Linked DNA regions of Homo sapiens: regions 2, 3 and 4 are each linked to region 1. Evidence: promoter capture Hi-C in 16 types of primary human blood cells and fetal thymus (Javierre and others, 2016). All regions are on one chromosome and are shown on one strand. Each heading gives the region's core, a stretch centred on a gene start or on the middle of the fragment in contact. The rest is flanking DNA. Distances are from core to core; before and after follow the strand shown.

Region 1 (2,941 bases), core at 141-2,640:
AAGTTGATTTTCCTAAGAGATGGCCTTAAATCTGAAGATAAAAGCAGGCTAAACCAGTAGGCCATATACAGTTTGGATGTTAATTTGAGTGCAATAGGAAGCTATTGAAGGATTTTAAGGAAGGAGAGATGACTGCTGTGTAAAGAATGGAAGGGTATCAGAGAAAAAAGCAGGAGTCCACATGAGATAATGGTGGCTTGGATTAGAGTAGTAATAGAGAGATGGTGAGTAGTAGTCAGTCTGGGGCTATGTTTTTGCAAGCCCTGTGCTGGACCGGATGTGAGGTGAAGGAGGAGTCAAGGATAACGCCCAGGTTTCTGGTTTGAGCACTGAGGAATCCAGCAGATGATGGTGCCATTTACTGAGGTGGGAGGATCTACTGCGTAAACCTCATTTGTTAAGCACTTTACTTGCTTAATATTGCTTACTTGTGGCAGGGCTGGGATTCAAACCCAGGAGGCTCACAACAAAGCTAGCACTCCAAACACTACAGAGTGCTATATAGCTGGTTCTGGGAACTACTAATATTGAGAGGAGACATAGAAAGAGAATGAAGCAAGAGCCAAATCAGACAAGTCTTGGTCAAGCTAAGACGTCTGAATTTTATTTTAAGTGAATGAGACACTGGAGGGTTTTAAGCAGGGAGTGACTTGATCAGACTTACAGTGCAAAATGATCAATCTGACTGCTTCGTGGAGAATGGATTGTAGAGGGGATGTGGGGAGAACTACATCAGTCCAGGCAGGAGATGATGGTGGCTAGAAGGTTGGTGATGGCGGTAGATGCAGAGAAGTAGGCAGACTGGAATACAGTGAGGGTTGTGCGGGAACTTGTACAAATGTGGACAACTTGTGACACTGGAGAGAAAGGACAATCCAATCCAATCCCTATTTGATTTACGGAAGCTCTCCATACGGTCATTCAGCTCAGCTTGAGTCACTCCAGGAACTCACTACCATCACTATTCGTGGGCCAGTGGGAGAGACGGATTGAGGGCAGATCACTGGAGTGATGAAGGCGCTACTTGATGCGGCACTACGTATGAACCCGATCCTGAATGAGAGGGAAAGACTGAGACAGGCTGAGGTCAGGCCTTGAACGTCGTGCTGAGGAGAGGGTGGTATTGTAGGCTTCCCAGCGCCCGACGTGGCTCTGAAAGGTGAGGCGGGGCCTAGATCCCTCACGCTCAGCACAGCCCCGCCCCTGTTACCTGAACGCCCCACAGCAGTGCCCGGGGGCTGAGCGGCCGGGGCGTCCCACCGCCGGCAGCCACAGCTTCCTCCTCCGCCCGGGACCTCTGGCCGGAAGCAGTCCGTTCGCCTTACTAGACCCGCTCCAAGCCTTTGAGCAGTTCGTGTGGGTCCGCTCCCAAGCTAGGGCTGGGCTGTTGCGCTTGCGCCAGGGGTCGCATGCAGTCACGCGCTGCCGACCGCTTCCGGTGCGCCGCGAGGGCCGCCGGGACGGGTCTCCCTGGCGATCCGTGGTGTGCCGCTACTGCCGGTGCAGCCGCCAAACCGGTGCCTCGGTGACGACCGTGTCCCTGCCGTCTTCCTCGAGCTCCCCGGGGCTTGACCCCCGGGGCCCTCGGCAGGCATCGGTGAGGAGCCTGCGGAGCGAACCTGTGCTCCTATTCTTGCCCTTCAGGACCCCATATCGCGACTCCGAGGAGGGGAAGCGAGAGGGGCTGTCGCGACTCCGCGCCGTGTGTCGCCGGGCGGGGCCGCGGGGCCGGGGCTCCTTCAGCCCCCGGGATGCGCGCGCGAGCCCTCGCCTCCACTTCCTTGTTGCTGCTGTCACGACTGGAGCCGCCTCTCGCCGACAGCGGGGAGCGCGAGTGCGCCAGCCATCCCCCTCGTCCAGCCGCCGGGCCAAGCGCCTCCGGGAATGTGAGCGGCGCAGCTTGCACGCTCCTCCGGGTAAGTCCCGCCTTCGAGGGCCGCGCCGAGCCGCTGGGCGACCTCGAGTTGGATGCTGCGGCTCTCTGAGCCTCTACTGAGTCTTCCACAAAGTAGGGCCACTGAGCCTTAGTGTCCTCCTTCCGCAATCCGTATGGGACATTCGGATGTCCCAGACGTCTTAGCTTGACCAAGACTTTGTCTGGTTTGGCTCTTGCTTCATTCATGACCCAGAATGAGGGAAAGGAGCTAGCCCAGAGTCAAACTGTGGCCCATGGCTGAGCCCTCAAAGGCAATCTCGTGAGATTCCAAGGAGGATCTGATGGGACAGAGAAAGTGTCTCGCATATTTCAGGTATTGACCTTAACTCTGTTTTACAGATGAAATAACGGAGACTTAGGGTAAGTAGATTGCTTAAGGTCAGAGGTCCCCGTGCTGGTGCGACTGGTGTAGTCTGTACTAGAACCCGGATTTTCTGTCCTCTAGAGCCCTTCGTTTTTAACCTTAAATTGTCCTGCCTTTTTTTGCATTGCTATACTGCTGCCTCGAGTCTGATAACAAACTTGTACTCAGGCTTAGAACAGGGTAATAAAACAAACAAAACCGTAGGGTGTTGTCTTCCTGCCCTCAGCCCAAGGTGGCTGTAATGAGTGTTTCCTAACCCGTTTTGCGCAGGGTGCTTAGTACCCTATATGCCATTCATTACAGATGCTCTCCTGCAGTTACTGCCCTTCTCCACAAGGCTTTCAGCCGCCCAGAAGTCAATTCAGGGCAAAAAAGCGCAGTCCCCACGTAGCCTTGATTTGAACTACTGCTTCCCTTATCCTTTACTGGCCTATTGCTTACCCAGCCAAGTTGTAGACTGTGTTCTCTTCCTGGGTTGCACTATGGCAGTTAGAATGTAGGTTTTTGTTTTGTTTTTCTTTGTTAGTTTAGTTTTTGTTTTTAATAGGAAGAGGAATCATTTAGAGATGACAGAGAACTAGGAAGAACCTAAGGAATAATGTGTGCTTTACCTGGGGTATATCCTGAAAATTATAGGTGAA
Region 2 (2,941 bases), core at 166-2,665, 380 kb before region 1:
AGAGCAGCTGACCCTCCGGGAGCGGCTGGCCCGCATCAACACACACACCCTCTCCAAGAAGACCACCCGGCTGAGCCAGCTGCTGAAGCAGGAGGCGGGGCTGATCCCCAGGGTGAGCGTGCGCCTGGGAGGAAGAGTCACATCCAGCCACCCCCAAGGCCAGGCCCTGCACAGTGGGTAGACAGGGGACTTAGGCTCCTTTCAGAACTGAGGCAATGGAGGCTGAGAGATTGAGGTGCTGGGAAGAGGCAGAGGTGGCACCCCACTTGATTCTGAAGAGCCAGTGGAGGGGTTTCTCCAGTGTCTTGGGCCACTCTCTTTGGGGCCTATTTACACAGATAGGAGAGCTGGTCTCTGGGTTTGGGCAAAGGACCAGCCCTAAATAGCTACTTCTAGCAGCACAGGTTGGTGGAGTGCCTGCTCTGAAACCAAGCATGCTCACACAATGAAATAAGTGTTCCCACTATCCCCATGAGAAAACAGAAACTCCGAGAGGGTAAAACCCTTGTCCAGAGTCACACGGCTAGGAAGCCAATGAACTGGGGCTCATGCTTGTGTATCCGATTCCATGCTCTGAATGTAAAACCACTGAGCTACACCACCCTCTCAGCTTTGGGGTTGCGAGAACCAGCTCTGGTGGGCGAGTCTGTGGAAAGGTTGTCCCAGTGAGGACCTGGAACACTGAAGCCGGTGTACACTGCCCCCATGTGGATATTCTCAACCCTCACACACATTACTTTCAGACAGAAGACAAGGAATTTGATGATTTAGAAGAGAGGTTCCAGTGGGTGTCTCTGTGTGTGACTGAGCTGAAGAACAACGTGGCTGCTTACCTGGACAATCTGCAGGTGAGGACACTGCAGGGTTCATAAAGGGCGAGTCTGGGCTGGGTTCCCCTGGCAGGAGGCTTGCAGGGCCCAGCCTACAAGCTGGGAAAGGCACCAGCCTCAGAAACCAACCAGATGAGGTCATCCTGTCTCATCTCTTCTGGAGAATGCTGGCCAGCACTCCTCAGCCCCAGGCCATTATACTGGGGGCAGCTCCGAGCCCATTGGAGTTCCTACCACATAGGGCCAAAATTCACTGGAAGCAGAGCCCCGCAGAGCAACTCTGCCAGACCAGCACCTAGAGCAGGGGAGACAAACAGGTGCCTAAAGGGGCCAGGCAGGTAATGCTACTGAGTGAAGTGTGCAGGTAACAGGCAATCCAATGCAATAGGAGCCTAGTGTCTAACAGGCTGTTTATGAGACTTTTCAGTGAACTTAAATATAAAATAATATTTGGAATTTGAAGGGCTGAATGAATGAATACATGAATCAAATCTAAAGGAGCAGCTATTCCTCAGCTCTGGGGGGTTGTTGCTGGGTGAGAATATGGGCCCAGTTCTTCTGACTTTAAGAAAAACACACCTGGAAATTCAGGTATTTTTCAGATTTTTGATGACATCTCCTGATGCGTCAATGTGAGCAACTAATTAAATGAAGATTTAAATGCTATGGGGCATTTTTTTAATGCATTGATGTAAATAGGAAAAGTTAGAGAAAAGTATTAATAGAACATGTGGAATATGGACATGGGAAAAAACAAACGCACTGCTGGGTGCAGTGGCTTACGCCTGTAATCCCAGAATTTTGGAAGGCCGAGGCGGGAAGATCACTTGAGGTCAGGAGTTCAAGACCAGCCTGGTCAACATGGTGAAACCTTGTGTCTACTAAAAATACGAAAAACATTAGCCAGGCAAGGTGTCACACGCCTGTAGTCCCAGCTACTCAGGAGGCTGAGGCAGGAGAATTGCTTGAACCTGGGAGGCAGAGATTGCAATGAGCCAAGATCATGCCACTGCACACCAGCCTGGGTGACAGAGTGAGACTCTGTCTCAAAAAAAAAAAAAAAGAAAAAGAAAAAAACCCCACAAAGGTGGCATGTAAATGTATGAAGTTCAAGAAGCACTGGAATGAGGAGAAAGATGTTGACTCAGTCTAAGGCGGAACTTTCTAATCACTTAAGCTGTGTGAGAATAGAATCAGCTGTGTGTGTCCCTCTCATTGGGGGTGTGTAGAGAGCCTGGAAAACCTCTTCAAGGTATGGTGGAAGGGGATTCCAGCGTAAGATGGCCATGACAGGCATGATTGGATGTTTCTCCTTGGTACTGGGTCCAGGCTTTCCTCTACTTCAGGCCGCACGAATACAATCTGGACATCCCCGAGGGGCCTGCAGTGCAGTATTGCAATTTGGCAAGAGACCTTCACCTTGAGGCCTTCCTGAAATTTGTGAGTGGAACCTTTCCTTTCTCCTTTCTTTGTTAGGCAGGTGGTAGAGCTTACAAGAATAATATTTAGAAGTCAGGCACTTTGGCCAGGCGTGGTGGCTCACGCCTGTAATCCCAGCACTTTGGGAGGCCGAGGCAGGCAGATTGCCTGAGCTCAGGAGTTTGAGACCAGCCTGGGCAATACGATGAAACCCCGTCTCTACTAAAAATACAGAAAATTAGCCGGGCATGGCAGTGTGCACCTGTAGTCCCAGCTACTCAGGAGGCTGAGGCAGGAGAATTGCTTGAACCCAGGAGGCAGAGGTTGCAGTGAGCCGAGATCATGCCACCGCACTCCAGCCCGGAGACAGAGTGAGACTCCTTCTCAAAAAAAGAAGTCAGGCACTTTACACAATTGCCACATCTGTAATCTTCCTGAGTGGTCAGCAGCATAGAGATTATTATTAGTGCACTTTCCTGATAAAAATAGCCCCCACTAACATTTATTGAGCCTCACTATCTGCCAGGCTCTATGCTAAGCCCTTTATATTCCTTACATCATTTAATCCTCACCATATGGTTTTGGGGGTGGCTACTTTGAATAACCCCATTCTGCAGGTGAGAGATTGAGGCTCAGAGGGGGTCACCTCCTGGGTCATTTATACAGATGGTCAGTGATAAGCTGGGATCTGA
Region 3 (2,941 bases), core at 255-2,754, 360 kb before region 1:
CTCAGTTGTGGAGATGAGGACAAGATTACAATATCAAAAGAAAGATGAATGAATTCTTGGTTAATATGACGAACCCCAGCTCAATGAGTAACTGATGTGAACTGCTGGGAATAAAGGACTTCAAAGATGGAAAGTCTCTGGAATTTGTGTGACTCTAAACATTGGGTAGCCAGATGCCCCGCTGTGCCATTTGTTTGCTAGACACTTGCTGTATATAAAAATAATATCTTGTTTGCTCAGGTGTCCATTTAATGGACACCCTTCACGCCTCAGGGAGCTGGCCTGAGCTGCTGGGGGATACAGAAAGAAATCAGACAGATGAGGCCCGGTCTTCCAGATCCCAGTCTCTAAGGCAGGCAGATGAGGCACCCATCAATTACGTGCCGTGTAAGTGTCAGGATGAAGTAATGGCAGGTGCCACGCAAGCCAGGGAAGAGGCCTACCTCTGTCTCAGACTTGGCGGCCAAGGAAGGCTTCCTGGAAGAGGTGATATCCAAGCTGAGGCCCAGTGGGTGGTTAGGTGAAGATGGCAGAGAGAGAACATTTGGAGGCCCAGAAGTGCAGCAAACATGGAAAGGAGCCTTGGATTTTATTCTGAGGGCAGTGGGGGAGGCATGAAAGGGTTTGAAACAGAGGAGTGATGTGCTCAGGGTTGTACTTTGGGAAGATCACTAGGCTCTGACTGTGTGCCTGTTGCGCCCACAGGCAACTGCATGCTCCTTGAGGCTGAGAACTTCTGATTCATCCCAGAATCTCCCTAAGCCTTTGTCATGTGCCTCAAGTACTAGATGTTCAATACATATTGCTTAGTAAGCATCCCAGAGAGGATAGGAACACCAAAGCCTTGCCTTCAAGGACTCTCCTGGCCGACTGGAGAGTCAGACATCAAGCAGTTATCTGGCCCTACAGGAAAAGATGCCCTCAGCCCCAGAGGGGTGCTATGGACCAGGCATATAGGTGCTCAGACAAGGGAGAGATTTGGGAAGGCTGAGGTGGCCAGGGGCAGTTTCCTGAGGAAGGTGGTGCAGGTGCTGGGCCTTGTGGGATACATAAGATTGGAGAGAGTAATCCGGCTGGGTGTGGTGGCTCACACCTGTAATCCCAGCACTTTGGAGGGCAAGGCAGATGGATCACTTGAGGTCAGGAGTTCAAGACCATCCTGGCCAACATGGTGAAATCCTGTCTCTGCTAAAAATACAAAAAATTAGCTGGGCATGGTGGCGTGCGCCTGTAATCCCAGCTACTCGGGAGGCTCAGGTAGGAGAATTGCTTGAAACTGGGAGGCAGAGGTTGTAGTGAGCCGAGATCACCATGCCATTGAACACCAGCCTGGGTGACGAAGCAAGACTCTTGCCTCAAAAAAATAAAAATAAAGCAATCCTATGGGATTACTCTGTCATCTACAGGATGGAGGCCTTCTCAGGCCTGGGAGGCAGTGTGGTGGCATGAAAAGGCCCAGCACTTGGCCTCAGAAAATCTAAGTCCACACCAGGCCCCAGTACCTCATGCCTGTAGTCCCAGCTACCCAGGAGGATTTCTTGAGCCCAGGAGGTCGAGGCTGCAGTGAGCTGTGATTGCGCCGCTACACTCCAGTCTGGGTGACAGACGGAGACCCTGTTTTTATTTATTTATTTATTTATTTATTTTTATTTTTTTAAAAAAGAAAAAGAAAAAAAATCTGAGTCCAAGACCTACTTGGCCATAGGCAAGCAGCAAATGTCTTGACTATGGATGGACCGTGGTTTCTATGTATGAAGACATCTGCTGATGGCCCCCAGGCTGCTCTGTCCTCCCACTCAGACTCAAAAGTACTCACTGCAGAGTTCTGGCCATCTCAAGGGTGTGGCAGGACAGAGCCTAAAATACCCTGGGCTGGGGCAAAGGAAAGAGCTGGATTCCACTCTGGCAACATCATGGAATCTGGGATCCTGAATGATTTATTCACTTAACCTTGCTCATTTTTTTTTCTTATCTATAATTACCCAACTTACCTTTTCTGTTTTCTCATCTGTAAAATGGATACAATAATTCCTGTTCTCCCAGGGTTGGTAAAAGGATTAAATAAGGGACAATCAGTGTGCCTGGTGGTAGATGTACCAGGAATATCACTGATATGCATTGATGGCACAGAAGAACTGTGACCACCAGGTGGCAGCAGGGGATCAGCTAAGGGACGGCTGGGAAGCGCCTTTGGGATCAATGCGAAACGCCCATGGTGCCAGGCAGTTAGTGGAGATGAGAGGAAGGGCCAAGTGAAAGGCATTAGGGGGTGGTGGGGACTGTGTTGACCAGAGCATGCACACTCAGTCTAAAAAGCTGTAGCTTCTTGGCTCCAACCAACTGTTCCCACATCAGAAGGAGGGTGCCGTGGTACCATTCTGATATTTCAAGAGAAGCCGCCAGGAACCAGAGTTTTTGTTTGTTTATTTATTATTATTATTATTATTATTATTATTATTATTGACAGAGTCTCGCTCTGTCTTACCCAGGCTGGAGTGCAGTGGCACGATCTCGGCTTACTGCAGCCTCTGCCTCCTGGGTTCAAGCAATTCTCCTGTCTCAGCCTCCCGAGTAGCTGGGATTGCAGACATGTGCCACCACACCTGGCTAATTTTGTGTTTTTAACAGAGATGGGGTTTCACCATGTTAGCCAGGCTGGTCTCAAACTCCTGACCTCAGGTGATCCACTCGCCTCGGCTTCATAAAGTGCTGGAAATACAGGCGTGAGCCACCGCGCCCGGCCTATTTTTATTTTTTGATGTGACATCTTCCATGTGGAGATCGCGTAGTCCACAACAGTTTGCCTCCTTGCATATTCTGCCTGAATGTGGGTTGAGTGTTCTTGGTGGAGATCTTCTCTGAAGAATTACTTTCGTATCTTCGTATTTCCTGTGAAATCCCTTTCTCCATCGTCACTTTAATCATCCCTTCATCAGACATT
Region 4 (2,941 bases), core at 270-2,769, 330 kb before region 1:
TGGAAGACTCCCCTTCCCAAGGACCAAGCCTGTGGGGGCTGCAGCAGAACTGAAAACGGATGTTCAGGCGCCCAAGAACAGCCTGGCTCCAGGGACCAATGGCAAGAGGGTGTCTCACACATGGGCAAATTGAGGATGCCTCAGTTTTGTTTGGCTTGTCCTCCATCTCTTCTCCCAGAAACAGGGCCCTTATTTTTATTTAGGGAACTCTTTATGCTCACTCCGTGTAATTTGGGTGGGGCTGAACCAACCCTGGATGCAAAATTGAACACAAGAAACAGATCTGGCCAATCAGAAAATTCCATTTTTCTGGTCACAGTGATTGGTTCAGAGATGGGCAAGTGGCCCAAAGTTAAGCCAATGAACGTCAGCCTCAAGATTTTTGCTGATGCTATCAGGAGAGAGGTGCTGTCTCTGGGCTGGGCTTGTTACCTGCAGAACTACACTTAGAGCTGCTGGTTGACTTTTGTCAATACATAGAGCAAGCCAGCCTGAGAACAAAGCTAAGATGGGCAGAAGTAGAGCTGAGAATTGGAGACTGGTTCCTGATGGCAGTGTTTACACCAGATTCATATCTACCCTTGGCCTTTTCAATTAAATAAACTCAAAATTCCCTCTTTTGCTTTGGCTGGTTTGTGTCGATAAGAGTCATTGAAAAGCAGTGTTAGCAGAGGGAAGCTTCCTGTCAGATTCTCTGAGCATTTCATGAAGATTTCATTTCCACCCACTCTGCGGTGCACTTACAACCCTCTGCTCCCAGCTGTCCAGGGGCAGTCTGCCTCTCTGGCTTGCTGGCTCTCAACACCTCTCTGAGTGAGATATCCGACCCCCTAGGTCTTCTCTCCTCCCCTTGGCAACCCACCCCTCTAAATTCCAGCCCCTGAGGATCCAAGCCCATGGCCTGGTGTTAACTCCCATCCCCTTTATGACTGTAATGTGTCCCAGACACAACAGTTGATGTTCTTTAAGCTTTGATGAGTACTTCCTATTTGCCAGACTCTGTGCCAGCCTCATTACATACATAATCTCATCGAATCTTCTCAATAATGCTGTTGGGTAGGTTTTATGATTATTATTCCCATTTTCAAGAATAGAAACCAGTGGCTTAGGGAGATGAAGTAACTGGCCTGAGACCAAACAGCTGAGTCACACACAGTGGGAGGCAGGGCTAGACAGAGTTGTAGGAGGGAACTAACCCCAGGGCCTGTGCCCCAATCGCCACACCAGTGCTTCTAACCCAAGTGAGCCCCAGGATCACCAGGGCACAGGAGCCCATTCCAGGGACCCACATCCCCTGAGTGAGGATGGGAAGGTCTGGGAATCTGCTTTGTTAAATACCCCAGGGGATACTGAAGCATGAGGTCCCCAGGACCTTACACTGACAGTAGCCACTGTCTCCCCCATTAAGGACTTTGGCGCTAGAAAGGAGTTTGGCATTGCCAGATCTATTATTGCAGGAGCTGAAGCTCTGCCCTAGCTCAGAAATGATGACAACGCTAGACAAACTTCTTTGCTGACACAGGGAAAGGAGAGATCAAGGGCATGTGGATAAGCAACTCATGCCTGGGAATAAAACAAAAATTTAAAGAATAACATCATTCCACTCTTCAGGGGGTGGGTTGTGAGTGTCTGGACTCTAAGAGGTAAGAGGTATAAGCCAGGGCCCAGGAGAAATTCAAATTCTATAGGCTTTCTTCATTTGTCCCTGAAAAGAAATGGCTCTCACAGCCCCATGAATGAAGTTCAAAGTTATTATTATTATTTTTTTAGACAGAGTCTCACTCTGTCACCCAGGCTGGAGTACAACGGTGCAATCTCAGCTCACTGCAACCGCCACCTCCCAGGTTCAAGCAATTCTCCTGCCTCATCCTCCCAAGTAGCTGGGACTGCAGGCACCTGTCACCACACCTAACTTTTTTTTTTGTATTTTTAGTAGAAACAGGGTTTCACCATGTTGGCCAGGCTGGTCTAAAACTCCTGACCTCAGGTGATCCACCTGCCTCAGCCTCCCAATGTGCTGGGATTACAGGCATGAGCCACCGCACCCTGCCAAGTTCAAAGTTCTTAACAAAGCTTTGCACCCAACATGAGCTGGTTGTGCTCTCTTGACACCTGGCTTTTAGGCATACCTCACCTTTCTGCCTGAAATGCTGTCTGTTTCCTTCCCCTCCTTTGCTTAACAAACTTCTGCTTATCCTTCAGATCCCAGCATTAATGGCCCTCCCTCTGGGAAGCCTCCTCCAATCACCAAATCTAGATTAGGTGTCCTTCCTCAGGGCTCCCTTACCTCCCTTAATATGTCTTGATTGTACCTCTCATATTGTATTTTATGTGTTTAATTCACCCTGCTATACTGTGAGGTTCCTGAAGGAAGGGCCGTGTCTATCGTGTTCTCTATTATATTCTCAGCACCAGACATATTATAACAATGAGTTAGTGAAAGCTTAATAAAACCAAAACAGAAAGCCCCAGGCAGTTACATGCAGTAATCATATTGACCACTAGATGGCACACGACTATGACGTCCCAATTGGGATGGGCTGGGAGAGGGGCGTGAAATTGATGAGCAGGTTGGTGGAAGGAGGCCGGGGGGCCTCTGATCTTCTCCAGACTGACAGCTGGAGACCTTCGTGATCCTTAAATTTGTATGTGTGGAAATCTTTGTTCAGGTAATTGCCTTACTCCAGAACCCCATTTCCATTAAGGGTTACGTCTTCATGCTACACATTAAACACTTTTTGATGTCTCTGAAGTTTCTTCTCTCGCTTACCAAAGAGGTGTTTTCTGTTATTAGTGTTGCTGTTGATTGCTTGAAATGGTTTTATAGATTGCTTTTTCTTATTACTCGTTAGGAATTAGGTGGAGTCTGTCACTTTTAGGCTCTGAGCCACCACTGAGTCTAATCTTCCACTCTTCAGTTGATCTGAAACTTCTGTTTTTT

Evidence for each region. The method cuts DNA at HindIII sites, captures the fragments that hold promoters and counts their contacts. A CHiCAGO score of 5 or more calls a contact.
Region 2: a fragment that was not itself captured here is called in contact with the fragment with the promoter of TIGD6 in region 1 in 6 of 17 cell types (erythroblasts, M0 macrophages, M2 macrophages and 3 more); the score reaches 14.2 in erythroblasts.
Region 3: a fragment that was not itself captured here is called in contact with the fragment with the promoter of TIGD6 in region 1 in 16 of 17 cell types (erythroblasts, M2 macrophages, M0 macrophages and 13 more); the score reaches 19.3 in erythroblasts.
Region 4: a fragment that was not itself captured here is called in contact with the fragment with the promoter of TIGD6 in region 1 in 4 of 17 cell types (erythroblasts, endothelial precursors, M1 macrophages and 1 more); the score reaches 10.5 in erythroblasts.

What each region holds. Positions count from the first base shown.
Region 1 is chr5:149,999,264-150,002,204 of GRCh38, forward strand. It overlaps TIGD6 (tigger transposable element derived 6), which reads right to left and starts at 1,391. Exons shown (of 2, transcript NM_030953.4): 1 at 1,211-1,391. It overlaps HMGXB3 (HMG-box containing 3), which reads left to right and starts at 1,476. Exons shown (of 20, transcript NM_014983.3): 1 at 1,476-1,916. RefSeq lists enhancers at 615-1,403, 2,291-2,370 and a silencer at 1,131-1,210. The HindIII fragment of the contact is 5,274 bases long and covers 1-2,941 here.
Region 2 is chr5:149,618,195-149,621,135 of GRCh38, forward strand. It overlaps ARHGEF37 (Rho guanine nucleotide exchange factor 37), which reads left to right. Exons shown (of 13, transcript NM_001001669.3): 6 at 1-112; 7 at 744-848; 8 at 2,160-2,270. Among named protein-coding and RNA genes, the nearest start is that of ARHGEF37, 38 kb to the left of the region's middle. RefSeq lists an enhancer at 1-164. The HindIII fragment of the contact is 5,427 bases long and covers 1-2,941 here.
Region 3 is chr5:149,634,836-149,637,776 of GRCh38, forward strand. It overlaps LOC124901104, which reads right to left. Exons shown (of 3, transcript XR_007058990.1): 3 at 2,408-2,941. It overlaps ARHGEF37 (Rho guanine nucleotide exchange factor 37), which reads left to right. Exons shown (of 13, transcript NM_001001669.3): 13 at 1-133. Among named protein-coding and RNA genes, the nearest start is that of ARHGEF37, 55 kb to the left of the region's middle. The HindIII fragment of the contact is 4,308 bases long and covers 1-2,941 here.
Region 4 is chr5:149,665,220-149,668,160 of GRCh38, forward strand. No RefSeq gene overlaps it. Among named protein-coding and RNA genes, the nearest start is that of PPARGC1B, 64 kb to the right of the region's middle. The HindIII fragment of the contact is 1,104 bases long and covers 968-2,071 here.